Regions from separate parts of the Homo sapiens genome. Here regions 1, 2 and 3 are each linked to region 4. Evidence: promoter capture Hi-C in human tissues and cell types (Jung and others, 2019). All regions are on one chromosome and are shown on one strand. The core of a region is centred on a gene start or on the middle of the fragment in contact, and the rest is flanking DNA. Distances in the headings are between cores, read along the strand shown. Region 1 overlaps NOL8 (nucleolar protein 8). Region 2 overlaps IARS1 (isoleucyl-tRNA synthetase 1). Region 3 holds the start of OMD (osteomodulin). Region 4 holds the start of BICD2 (BICD cargo adaptor 2).

Region 1 (3,264 bases), core at 183-2,682, 460 kb after region 4:
AGATTATGTTTAGAATGTTAAAAAAATCAAAGAGTCTATAATCACTGTAGTTATTAGTATCTTGCTCTATTACATTTGTCGATCTTTACCTTAAAAGTTTTAGACTTGCTACTGAAAGCCATTAAATTCAGACTTTCATAATTAGGAACAGAAGTAGGACTTTTCATTGTCTGGTCACGCAGACTTTCTGAGTTTGCTATGACTGAGGGTCTTTGGTTATGGAGGTTAGTGAAATGAGGTTAAAGTTTCTTCTTCCTGTCTTAATGGATTTTGAACATGTTTAGGTACTTGGTAAATATTTGATGATTGAGACTTCTCAGGCTGTGTTTTCCAAGAGAGTATTAATTATCCCTTTTCCTCAAAGAGGTAAATGAAAAGAAAACTGCTGAGGAAGAAGAGCTTGCTGAAGAAAAAAAGAAAGCCCTGAATGTTGTACAAAGTGTTTTGCAAATCAACTTAAGCAATTCTACAAACAGAGGATCAGTAGCTGCTAAGAAATTTAAGTATGTTTTATGTTCCATCCCATTCTACCATATCATCCTTTGCCATAAATGTCTTCTTGAACTCAATTTAAAACTAGGTCTCTTTTAATGGCCTGGGGAGGCAGCTGGCAATATGTATCAGACCCTTAAAAATATACTTGCCTTTGACCCAGTGATTCACTTCAAGGAACTAATCTTAAATTATTTCTGTATTTATACACTTAGATGTCATAGCAGCATCGCTTTCATTAGTGAAACAAATGGGAAACAGTTTAAATAGTAACTGTAAAAGTATTTATATAAACGTAACTGTTATGGAAATTTTCAGGCATGAAATTTAGAGAGACTAATGAAAGCCCTGTATACCATCATTACCTGTACACCAGGTAATGAAAGCCCTGTACACCATCACCTAGCTTTTACAGTCACCAACATGTGACCAGTGTTCTCTTCTATACCTTTATCCAACCCCTACTTTACACAATGAAATGTTTTATGCAAATCCCAGATAGTATATCATTTTATCTGTATGTATTTTAGTATGTTTAAAATCATTTTAAAAGCTAAAAAAATCCAGGAAATCTCAAAAGTAGGTAGTTTAAAATATTTTTTCGGCTGGGCATGGTGGCTCACACCTGTGATCCTAGCACTTTGGGAGGCTAAGGTGGGCGGATCACCTGAGATCAGGAGTTGGAGAGCAGCCTGGCCAACATGGTGAAACCCCGTCTCTACTAAAAATATAAAAATTAGCCGGGCATGGTGGCACATGCCTGTAATCCCAGCTACTTGGGAGGCTGAGGCAGGAGAATCGCTTGAACTTGGGAGGCGGAGGTTGCAGTGAGCCAAGATCACGCCATTGCACTCCAGCCTGGGCAACACAGCGAGACTCTGTCTCCAAGAAAAATCTATGTATATGTTATTTCTAGTAAGATCCTAGTTATCTTATCTGATGTTATATGGCTTCTTCTTGCTGCAAAATTAGAATCTTCCTAGTGCTGAATTATAATTTGCTACTTACTTTTTGTATTAGTGTTCTGTTTTTATCTCTTCCAACCTCCCTTCCTTTTTTTACATAGGGACATCATACATTATGATCCAACGAAGCAAGACCATGCCACTTACGAAAGAAAAAGAGATGATAAGCCAAAAGAAAGGTAAGTAGAGCTACTTCTTTTAGCAATAGGATCATGTAAATTAATCTCATTTCAGACAATTAAAAATGTAGGTAGGAACCAATATCCTACTCATTGGTCCCACTGTATTAAGATTGGTGGGGTAGGGGTAGTGCAGGTAGAGTTAGAAAGGAATTATTGATGTGGTGGAGGAGGTCTTACCTTTTAACAGAGGAATCTATAAATGATATGTACTCCTATCATTTATACCTTTTATTTGTATAAATGATGCCTTTTATTTGTACTAGTTTCTTGTGTCTTCTGTAGCTACCACAAACTTAGTTACTTAAAATCACAAAAATTATTTCTTTACAGTTCTGGAACCTAGAAGTCCCAAATTAAGATAGTGAACAGGTTATGTTCCTTCTAGAGGTTCAGGGAAACAAAGCTGTTTTATGCCTCTCCTAGTTTCTAGTGACTGCCACCAATCCTTTGGTGTTCCTTGGCTTGAGACTACATTACTCCCATTTCTGCCTCTATCTTCACATGGCCTCTTCTTTTCTGTCTCTCCTCTTTGTGCCTCTTATAAGGACACTTGTGATAGCATTCAGGGCCCACTTGGATAATCCTGGATGGGCTCCTCATCCTAGGACCCTTAACTTAATATCTCTGCAAGACCCCTTATCTAAATAATGTTAACATTCACAGGTTTCAGGAATTAGGACATGGACATAGCTTTTGGGGGGCAACCATTCAACCATCTAGTGTGGTAGGAGCTTCTGTTTCCTATAGATGTGCAGTCAGTTGGATAAACATGGCAAATATATGGAGCAACCAGTAGCAGCTTGGTTTAAATCCTTCATTTTCCAACTGCTAATAGCCACGAAAATCACAAAAGGCAGTGTGGTATCCTGAATTGAATCTTGAAACAACAGGACAATTTGTGGAGAAACTAGTGAAATCAAAACAATGTCTGAGTTTAGTTAGTGGTAATCTACCAATGTTAATCTTCTAATTTTGACAATTATATCCTAGTTACATACACACATAATTACATTAGGGAAAACAAAGTGAAGGCTATTTAGGAACTCTACTATTTTCGTTACTTTCTGTAAACCTAAAATTGTTCCAAAATTATTCTTTTAAAAAGAATCACATTTTAGACTAAAGTAGAATATTAATATTCCCTCCAATGTAGGATATATGTGTGTTATTTCAGATAATCCGTATTGAACAAATAGGATATGTTTACCCCCTCCCTATACCCCTAAGAAGTCTCATCCCTTTACATCAGCTCAAAATCCAGGATGTCATCATTCAGATCAGATCTAAGTACAGATGAGGCTTCTCTGTTATTCCTTGAGTACAGTACCTTGAGTGCAGTTCTGTTTGATAAGACCTATGAACTAAAAAAGCAAGTTATCTACCCTTCCTCCAATATAGAGCGGTGGAACAGGCATTGGATAACCACTATAGGTACTGTTCAATGAAAGAAAACAGGCACAAAGGAGTCACATGTCCATAGTAACTCTGAAATCTAGACAGACAAATGTTGGAAGGTCTTTGATTAGGACTGAGGGCCTAGGAATAATTCTTCCTGACCGTTGACTTGGCTTTCTGGATCATCCTTCTCTTTTCATAAGTGCTGGCACAGGTTTACAGCTGAGTAG
Region 2 (3,450 bases), core at 507-3,006, 480 kb after region 4:
TGAGTCACAGAGTATACTTAATTTTTAGTTCTAATACTGAGGTTGGGAAACTTTCCTCTGCAAATTAAATATTTTAGGCTTTTCAGGCAAAGTGTTCTCAATTTTGTCACCATTCTTAACTCACCCACTGTATGAAACAAGTGATGAGCCAGATTTGGCCCAGGGGCCATGGTTTGCTGACCTCTATTCTACGCGGTCTGTATATTGATTGTTAACCAAGGGTTTTTAAAATTTTTTTGACTTGACCAAGCACAGTGGCTCACACCTGAAATCCTCGCACTTTTGGAGGCCGACCTGGGCAACATGACAAAACCCCATCTCTACTAAAATTACAAAAATTAGCTGGGCGTGGTGGCGTGAACCTTTAGTTCCAACTACTCCACAGGCTGAAGTAAGAGAATGACATGAGCCCAGGAAGTTGAGGTTGCAGTGAGCCGAAAGTGTGCTACTGCACTCCAGCCTGGGTGACAGAGTTAGACTCTGTCTCAAAAAAAAAAAATATATATATATATATATATATGTGTGTGTATGTATATATGTAAGTATACATATATATGTATTGGCTTAAAACTTTTATTTATTTATTTTTAGAGAAGGGATTTCAGTCTGTCACCTAGGCTGGAATGCAATGGTGCAAACACAGCTCACTGCAGCCTTGACCTCCTGGGTTCAAGTGATCCTCCAGCCTCACCCTCCTGAGCAGCTGAGACCACAGATGTGCATCACCATGCCCAGAAAATTTTTTTATCTTTGTAGAGATGGGATCTCACCATATTGCCCCAGCTGGTCTCAAACTCCAGAGCTTGTGCGATCCTCCTGCCTTGGCCTCCCAAAGTGCCAGGATTATAGGCATGAGCCACCGTGCTAAAAAATTTTAATTTTTTACAAAAATTAGCTGGGCATGGTGGTGCACACCTGTAGTCCCAGCTATTCAGGAAACCGAGGCAGGAGAATGCTTGAACCTGGGAGGTGGGGGTTGCAGTGAGCTGAGATCACGTCACTGCACTCCAGCTTGGGTGACAGAGTGAGATTCCATCTCAAAAAAAAAAGAAAAGAAAAAAATTAATTTTGATGTAGTTTCAAACTCACAGAAAAGCGGAGAGTTCTTTATATCCTTCAACTAGATTCCCTAAATGTTAACCTTTTACCACATTTGCTTTATCCTTCTCTCTTTTTATGGGAGTGGGGCACAGTACCCTTTGAGAGTAAGTTGCAGGAATTATGGCCCTTTTCCTCTAAAAACTATATATTTCCTAAAATCAGTAACATTGTTTGAAATAACTGGAGTTAGAAAATTAACATTGATGCTGTATTACCTCATGTGTAGATCTTATTGGGTTCTGCTTGTCCCAGCAGTGTCCTTTATAGTTAACAAGAAAAAAAGAAGGAAAGAAAAACAAAAAAGACCTACATTGTGTGCTTCATGCAGTGGTATGTCTCCAGCCTTCTTTAATCTTAAAGAGCTCTTTAGTCTCTTTATGCCTCATAATACTGACATATTTGAGGAGGTACAGGCCAATAGTAGTGTCTCTTATTTCAAGTTTGTCTGATGTTTTACATGTGACTAATGGCTCTCGTGTCACTTTATTTAAATTGCAGTTGGTTTTTGTTGGGGATTGATTTTTTTTTTCCTACCTTAGAGCTATTTATTTTTAAATCCTTGATATTTTTGTGTTGAAACATTTCCGTAAAGTTGGAGACAATCTTGTTCTTATTTAATGAGCTGAATTTATATGGGTCTGTTACAATTTCAAGTATGTGTTGCTTCAGTAGGATCTTTTTGGTATTTTGGGCAAAAAGATAACCATATTCCAGAACAGTTATCTTTTTGATCTAACTCTTGATGGACTTACAAAATAGATAATCATAATACTGAAACCTCCATCATATGTTCCTACTTAGACATTACTTTAAAAAGTTACCAGAGGCCAGGCATGGTGACTCACGCCTGTAATCCCAGCACTTTGGGAGGCTGAGGTGGGAGGATCACCTGCGGTCAGGAGTTTGAGACCAGCCTAACCAACATGGAATAACCCCATCTCTACTAAAAATACAAAAATTAGCCACGTGTGGTGACACGCACCTATAATCCCAGCTACTCGGGAGGCTGAGGCACAAGAATCACTTGAACCCAGGAGGCAGGGGCTGCAGTGAGCCAAGATTGTACCACAGCACTCCAGCCTAGTGACACAGTGAGACTCCATCTAAAAAAAAAAAAAAAAAAGTCACCAGGTGTCAAAAGACATTATTTTTGAGACTACTAAGGTGATGATTAAAACATTTTTTAAAGTATTTAAAAATTTTTTTACTTGGAATTTCTTGCTATTTTCTGTTTGTAAGTCTGGTAAGTGGTTTCTTCGGTTTACCCTGAAGATTTATTTTATTCCTCTTTAGGAGTAGTTCCTTTTTCTTAGGTGTCTGTTATTGTGGATTTCTAAAACAATACTTTACCTCAATTTATTTCAGGATGTTCAAGATCCTTCAGTATTTGTAACTTTCCCTTTGGAAGAAGATGAAACTGTATCTTTAGTTGCTTGGACAACCACTCCCTGGACTCTACCTAGTAACCTTGCTGTGTGTGTTAATCCAGAAATGCAATATGTGAAAATTAAAGGTAAGTGGGAGGCTGGTTACTTATGATTAATATGGATAAGATAATTTTATATTTTGGAAAATATGAAAGCTTACCTTTCTTTTTGCATGAAGAATAGAATTATTTGAAAACAATCTGACTTAATTAGAAAAATAACTTTAAACATTTGTTTTCATTTCTAATTGAAAACTAACAAAACAATTAAAATAGTACAGAGATATAAAAAGTAGAACATAAAATTTTCTTATAATTTCCAGTTTATAGTACATTTTTCCACACCATGCCCCTGTGACAGATGAAGAATCTAAGATTCAGCGATGTGGCATCACGTCGTTACTAGCAATTGATACCAGAACTTGAGAACTTTTTGCCTTTCAAATGTCCCCTGGTAGAGAGTTACCAGTCTCAACGAGGGCCTTTCCGAGATTTAAAAAGAAGATTGGTACTTTGTGAACAAATATACCTTCAGGTTTGGTAGTTTTGTGGCGGTAAAAGAAAAAGAGAAAAACTCATTGCCATGAAAAAAGCTATGGCACAGCTGCTGTGGAAGGCAGTGACATTTCTTCAAAAAGCTGAATGAGATGACACTATGGCCCAGCAATTTCACTTCTGAGTGTTTTCCCCAAAGAATTGAAAGCAGTCTTGAACAGTTACTTGTACACCCGTGTTCATAGGAGCATTATTCACAGTAGTCAAAAGATAGAAGCAACCCAAGTGTCTATCATTGGATAAATGAATAAACCAAATAGGGTATTTACGTACAGTGGAATATTATTCAGCCTAAAAAAGAAAGGAAATTCTGATACAGGCTATGCCTTGAATGAACCTGGAGGACATTATGCTAATTAAAATGAGCC
Region 3 (3,108 bases), core at 251-2,750, 340 kb after region 4:
TAATGAGAAGTTATATAAACATTAGGCTGTTGATTTTCAGTTAATCTTCCAAAAGGACTGTGAAGGCCTATAAAACAATTTTTTGAAAAAGTACACAGATTTGCTCTCTCTTCCTTAGTGAAAGCCTGAGTTTTAAGAACAAAGACACTAACAGAAAACATATGGAAAAGATCAGTAACAAGATGGAATCTTGGCTAAAGTGTGGTCTGCCACGTTTTTCATACCAATGTCTCAAATAATAGACTAGATTTTTACAACTGCCAAAGCATCACTTGAAACACTGTATACTTTTCTTAATGCAAAGTTTAACAAAATAAATCTTGTGAGTTCTTTGTAAAAAGCTAATGGAAAACACTTTTTTGAGGAAACAAAATGAACTCCAGGATTCACTTTATCTTATTAGTTTGTAAAAGCTTAAAAGAATTCCCCCCCAAAATGAACTCCGAATCTACTGCCAAAAGACACAAGTCAACTCTCTGTTTAGAATATGAGAACAGTGTAAAAATTAAACATTAAAAACAGTTAACTGTTACTATTCAGGAGAGATAGCTCTATGAAATGAAGAAATTTTCTAAATCTACAAAATAAAGGCAATAGCTATTGAGTAACATAAGCTTTTCATCCCATTTTATTCAATACTACAGAATTATTTTGTGCAATAGTAAAAACAGGCAAATTGAAGATACACCTTTGGAGTGCAACCAACTGACTAATTTTATCTGAAAGGATATTAGAAGTCATTCTAGTGGGTACATCTGCCAAAAAGAGGAGAAATGAGATAGCTGATAAAAATGATGATAAAAATGAAGATGTAAGCCTTTGTATAGAAAAGTCGTATAGTTAATCTGTGTAAGCAATGACAATCAAGTGCATTTTAAAAATAAACAATGCGAAATGTTATGTTTCTAATCCTGATTTCTTGTTTTAACAAATAGAAGTACTGATATGAACCTAGGTGTTGAATAACCAAGGGACTCAAGAAATTTTGAGTTCCAGGCCAGGCGTGGTGGCTCATGCCTGTAATCCCAGCAATTTGGGAGGTGGAGGCGGGAGGATCACCTGAGGTCAGGAGTTCAAGACCAGCCTGGCCAACATGGTGAAACCCCATCTCTACTAAAAATACAAGAAATTAGCCAGGCATGGTGGCTCATGCCTGTAATCCCAGCTACTTGGGAGGCTGAGACAGGAGAATTGCTTGAACCCGGGAGGTGGAGGTTGTGGTGAGCCGAGGTTGCACCACTATACTCTGGCCTGGGCAGCAAAGCAAGACTCCATCTCAAAAAATTAAAAAAGAAATTTTGAGTTCCACCTTAAGTTGCTGAGACTCTGGAGTTCCCTGTCACAGTGGGCCTTAATTTGAAGAATTCTTTGGCATGAAAATGAAAATAAAAACAGTAATCAGTACATGCTGTTTCATTTAGTTTTGTTTGCCTTTCACATTAGAGGAAATTCTTGCCACACCTCAAACCAAAATTAAGGGGAAAAGAAAGAAGTAAGCCACATAAATCTGACCAAGAACACAAGCATCTTAATTTGAATCCACAAAGTTTCATGTAATGAAAAGAAATACATAATTTTAATTCAACCCGAGTGTTTTCCAAGAAGATTGTATTTGCTTAAATTGCTACAGTAATTCAAGAGACAGCCCTGTCTGGACACAGAGTTACTGTGGATTTTTAAGAGACTCAGTTAAAGAATTTAGGAATTTCTGATTCATTTAAAGGATTTACAAATTCATCAACCCCTGAAAACTAAAGCAAATTGAACAGGTATGATAATAAAATAATTTTCAATTTTTTAAGAATGTATTCCTACTGTTAAAATTTAAAAGTATATTGGATTTTTTAATATTAAAATAGACTGCATCTATTACAAAAGCACAATTTTTGGAAGCAAAATCTGGTAAAAAAGTTATGTTAAACTTTTGATTAGGCAAAATGTTCAAATAAAGTAGTATAATGAGTTTAACTTTCTCATTTAAGATTTACCCAATAAAAAATCTTTGTTTAGATTTTTTTTTACTTTGAATGAAAGGAAAGATTCTCAGGTTAAAGGAATCAATCTCTTTCTCTTCCTTAGGTCTCTTTTTTTCTATGAATTATAAGTAACAAAGAACCAGCTAATGCCTTTGAGGCATACAGCTGAGCAATGCTAGTGATTCCGGTTGGGGGGTTGATGGGCATTTGTACAAATTTCACTCAAGATTTTCTCCAAATTTCTCTACTGACTAAATCCCTGATATAGAATGTTTTTCTTTTCATTTACTTCTTTCTCAAAGGGAAAATACAGATGCTCTATCTAGTCTATTGAAGGATCTAGTTACTTTGGGTTTTAGTTAATTACGATTTAAATGTATTATGGCTAAAAATAATTGAGGTAATTGTATTTTTAATAGCAAAAAAATTTTATAAAATTAAAATTTAGAACTTTTTTGGAAAAATCTAAATTATATGCTAATATTTGCTTTCTTATATGCTAGTTTCTATGTCATACAAATAAAAACAATTATGTCTTTAACATAATAAAATGTTGAGGATTTTACTTTAAACTTTTCCTGAACAAGTAAATTATACCTCATTAGTAATTTCAATTGAAACTTTTCTTGATGAACACGAGTGCTTTTCTCCAAGTAAGAGAAATATTATGACACAGATGGTTTTATTGCTATAATATGAAAAATTCACATTGAAAACTGGTAATATATATATATTACTTTGCTCCAAACATTCTTTTTCACATTTGTTCTTTTCCTGCTACACGATGTACTAGGAAAGTGAGGAATACAGTATATTGTGATGAAGAAATATTCAATAGAAAAAGGAACAGTCAAGCTCTCATGAATATGTTCATTTGAAGAAATTATCATAGTGAAATAAATGCCTAGGAATAATCAACATTAGTAGAGAGAAGCATTTGCTAGCAAGCCTTAACCTATAACTTATTAACTTATTCATTCAACACACCTTTGAGCACTTATAACACTGCATTGTATTAGATTCTGTTAAAAGATATTAGGAAATGAGATGATCAACAATGAATTATACAATATTGCTGTGAGTTATCCTATAGAGAACAAGGCATACATTGTAGAGTATGAAAAGCAGAAGT
Region 4 (3,336 bases), core at 515-3,014:
TGGTAATAATTATTTCAGGCAAGAAGTAGTCATGAATGCCAAAACCAGTGGGTCAAGGTTTGAGGAGTCATAGGCTATATCTATGGTTGCAAAGTCTTCACTCATGACACTAATTACCAAAGAAAAACCCAGCATCAATCAGAGAAATGCAAATCGACATCACATACCTCCCGGCTGGTGCTCTGAAAACTCAGCAACACCTCAGTGACAGTCCTGCCAGAAACGCATCACCTCATCACCCCATGAGCATATACCAGTGTGCACTGCACTCCTCAGAAAGGTCAATCAAAGGAGACTCAGGAAACCTGACGACTGAATGCAACTGGATCCTGGACCACAAAAACAATACTGAAACTCTCCAGTATGGTGTTGGGCCCTCGTGCAATTAGAGTGTGGACTGTGCATTAGATAGTGTCAGTACCCTGTGTGCTGTGATTTCTGCTGTCATGGCTTCTTTCTAATTTGGTCTTGAGGGAGAGTGACCATAAGCCAAGATAGCCACTCTCTAGGAGAACCGAATGGGTGTGGGGTTCAGGTGAGATACAATGAGAAAGTAAAATTAAAAGGTACAAAACAGAAGGAATTTATTATTCTTAGGTTCCGGAGAGGTTAGGGATGCCTAAGAGAGGCGGACAAGCAGATGGAGAGGGGCAGTGAGAGACGGTGGGAAGGAAGGGACTATGGCTGTGCTAGGGTCCATGGAAATCATCCTTTAGGATTTCCCTTGGGGCCTGTGGACTGGCTAAAGAAAATACGAGGGAAGGGTGAACTCATCTGCACTGATACTGGCCATTAGGTGCTATGGCGGTCAGCGGCTGTGGGGTGTGTTGCGCTTTAGGTCAATGAGATAAAGAATAAACGAGTTATCTCACACACCACCATATACGGAGAAGTGTTACCTACGCCAAGGCGAAGGGTACGACTGGCTTTCAAACAACTTAAGTCAGGCCTAAAAATAGATGCGGAGACAACAATTATATTTACCACGTTTATGACCCTGTATTAATGGAAATGTCTTTATTCCCAAGAAATAGACCTTGAAGGACTGAGGGGCGGTGCTGAGGTTCCCGCTGGCCCCTGGGCGCCCCCTGCTGGCCCGTCCTCCTCCCGCCCCCAGACGTCTGCACAGAGCATGCGTCACACCGTCCACGGGTTTCCAGCAGCAGCCGTTCACCCGCGCTCTCGGATGCGCTTCTAGCTCGTGGCCTCCCGGGCTCTGTCCGCGTTGTTCGTCCCACGGTCGGGAGCCCAGTCCTGCCGCCCCGCACCCGCCTCCCCCTGGGGGTTCTCCCGGCAGCCGTCTTGCCACCCCGCGTGGCCGCCGGCTGCCAGAGGCACAGGGGAGCGCGAGGCCCGGCGACCGAGCAGTGTCCCCGGCTCTGAGTGTGGGGAAGGCCGCGGGGCCGCGCCCACTCGACCGCCGTCCAGGGGACTGCAAGGCGCCGGTACATCCGGCTCGACGCTGGCGGCGCAGGCCAATCACGGACGGGGACGGGTGGGCGCGGGGCTGGACGGGTTTTGTAGTCGGTGCGCTAGCGGGACTACTGTCCCCACAGCCCCCTGGGCCACATTGGCGTCAGTGGCTGCGCCCGAGGGCCCGCCCCTCACAGAGCATGGGCCAATCATAGCCGGGGGCCGGGCGGGCGCCGGGCATGATGGACCTTGTGGTCGGAGCGCAGGCAGGACTCCAGCCCCCAGCGGGCCCCGCGCGCCGGAGGGGAGGAGCCGTGCGGCGGCGCGGGCGGGCGGGCGGCCGTCGGGGCAGGGCGGCGGCGGCGGCGGCAGCGGCGGCGGCTGAGGAGGGCCCGGCCTGCGAGAGCCTCAGTGGGAGCCGGCTCAGCCCTCGGCCACCATGTCGGCGCCGTCGGAGGAGGAGGAGTACGCGCGGCTGGTGATGGAGGCGCAGCCGGAGTGGCTGCGCGCCGAGGTGAAGCGGCTGTCCCACGAGCTGGCCGAGACCACGCGTGAGAAGATCCAGGCGGCCGAGTACGGGCTGGCGGTGCTCGAGGAGAAGCACCAGCTCAAGCTGCAGTTCGAGGAGCTCGAGGTGGACTATGAGGCTATCCGCAGCGAGATGGAGCAGCTCAAGGAGGTGAGCCGAGCCGCCCTGCCCTGCGACCCCCGCCCGGCGCCGGGGCCTGTGGGCGTCGTCCCTGGCACCAGGGCGGCCAAGGTCAGCTTGCCAAGCGGGGGCCGGCAGGGGTGGGCCGCCGGGGCGGAGGGGGCACGGGCAGTATGTGGGAGTGGGCCCGGCCTTGGCTAGCAGGCCGGTGCCGCGGCCGTTGCAGACGCCGCTAATGCAGGGGTCCGGGCGCCTTGTCGCCTCCTGCAGCTGCCCGCCTGCTTCTGTGCGGACCTGGGCGGCCCCGGCGGGGCGGGGCTTCGTAAGGGCTGATGCTTTGCGGTGGTCGCTGTTCCGGGTGTGTCTGAGTGTGGGGTGGGGTTGGGAGGGCAGTGGCTGAGCCGGGAGCTGAGGCCACGGATGCTGGTGACCCGCTGGGAGAGGCCGAGGGTGGGCCTGGGTCTGGGTGGCTGCGGCTCTGTCACCTTCAGAGAAAGCACTTCCCCTCTCTGGGCGCAGCTACTTTCGGAGCGTTTCTGCTTCTTTCATGAGTGCCTCCGAGGTGGGGAAAGGTCGTGGACAGCGGCCTAAGTGAGTAGGGGCTCGGGGTTGCACGTGGAGGTTGCCCCTGGCATGGGTCCCCCAGTACCCTTGCCCCAGGCCCAGCGCTGTGTCCTCATGGCCGGGATTGCGCTCCCACCAGCTAGCATGACTTCCCTGGCCCACTTCCTGTCCAGCCCCGCTTCTCGGGCCCTTCCCCTCGCTGTGGCTTGCTGTGTTCCTCTTGGACGGAGACCTCAGTGGTCTGTGTCATTCCCACTGGGGGGAGAGTAGGTTAGACCACCAGGCTGGTCGAGGGTCTCCAGGCGGCAGGGCAGCGGGAGTCTTGGACAGTCCTTCCCCAGCTTCTCTTCTCCCGTTCCCTGACTCCATAGCGTTGTTTGCAGGAATTGCTTTCTGGGAGGATACACCAGGGTTTGGATCCAGGCTGTGCCCCTTGCTAGTGATGTGGCTTTGGGTAGAGGCCCTCCGTGAGTCTTAGTTTCCCCCTCTGCAAAATGGGAGTGCAGTACTGCGTGCCCAGAAAGGATTGTTGTGAGGGTCATGTATTTGGAAAGGACTGGTGTGCGGTCAGGAGTATAGCTTGGTGGTGTGCTCCCTTCCCCCACTTGAGTGTGTCCTGGTGAGCCCTTGGCTCTTGGTTTCCAGGCTTATCACCTGGCACCTCTGCTCCCAGTCAGCCCAGACAGGTGCCTAAATCATTTGCAGCCTTC

What was found. Contacts are between HindIII fragments. The study calls those that stand out against the background at their distance.
Region 1: a contact is called between a fragment that was not itself captured here and the fragment with the promoter of BICD2 in region 4, in 1 of the 25 tissues and cell types used here (mesenchymal stem cells).
Region 2: a contact is called between a fragment that was not itself captured here and the fragment with the promoter of BICD2 in region 4, in 2 of the 25 tissues and cell types used here (dorsolateral prefrontal cortex and lymphoblastoid cells).
Region 3: the fragment with the promoter of OMD here is called in contact with the fragment with the promoter of BICD2 in region 4 in 1 of the 25 tissues and cell types used here (lymphoblastoid cells).

The regions. Positions count from the first base shown.
Region 1 is chr9:92,304,125-92,307,388 of GRCh38, reverse strand. It overlaps NOL8 (nucleolar protein 8), which reads left to right. Exons shown (of 17, transcript NM_017948.6): 11 at 365-503; 12 at 1,559-1,636. Among named protein-coding and RNA genes, the nearest start is that of IARS1, 12 kb to the right of the region's middle. The HindIII fragment of the contact is 6,239 bases long and covers 1-3,264 here.
Region 2 is chr9:92,279,910-92,283,359 of GRCh38, reverse strand. IARS1 (isoleucyl-tRNA synthetase 1) reads left to right here. Exons shown (of 34, transcript NM_002161.6): 7 at 2,467-2,614. Among named protein-coding and RNA genes, the nearest start is that of MIR3651, 11 kb to the left of the region's middle. The HindIII fragment of the contact is 9,461 bases long and covers 1-3,450 here.
Region 3 is chr9:92,422,863-92,425,970 of GRCh38, reverse strand. It overlaps OMD (osteomodulin), which reads left to right and starts at 1,500. Exons shown (of 3, transcript NM_005014.3): 1 at 1,500-1,769. All of the region lies in intron 5 of CENPP (centromere protein P), which reads right to left. The HindIII fragment of the contact is 14,159 bases long and covers 1-3,108 here.
Region 4 is chr9:92,763,261-92,766,596 of GRCh38, reverse strand. BICD2 (BICD cargo adaptor 2) reads left to right here and starts at 1,764. Exons shown (of 7, transcript NM_001003800.2): 1 at 1,764-2,092. The coding sequence starts at 1,853. RefSeq lists silencers at 172-221, 1,074-1,813. The HindIII fragment of the contact is 19,809 bases long and covers 1-3,336 here.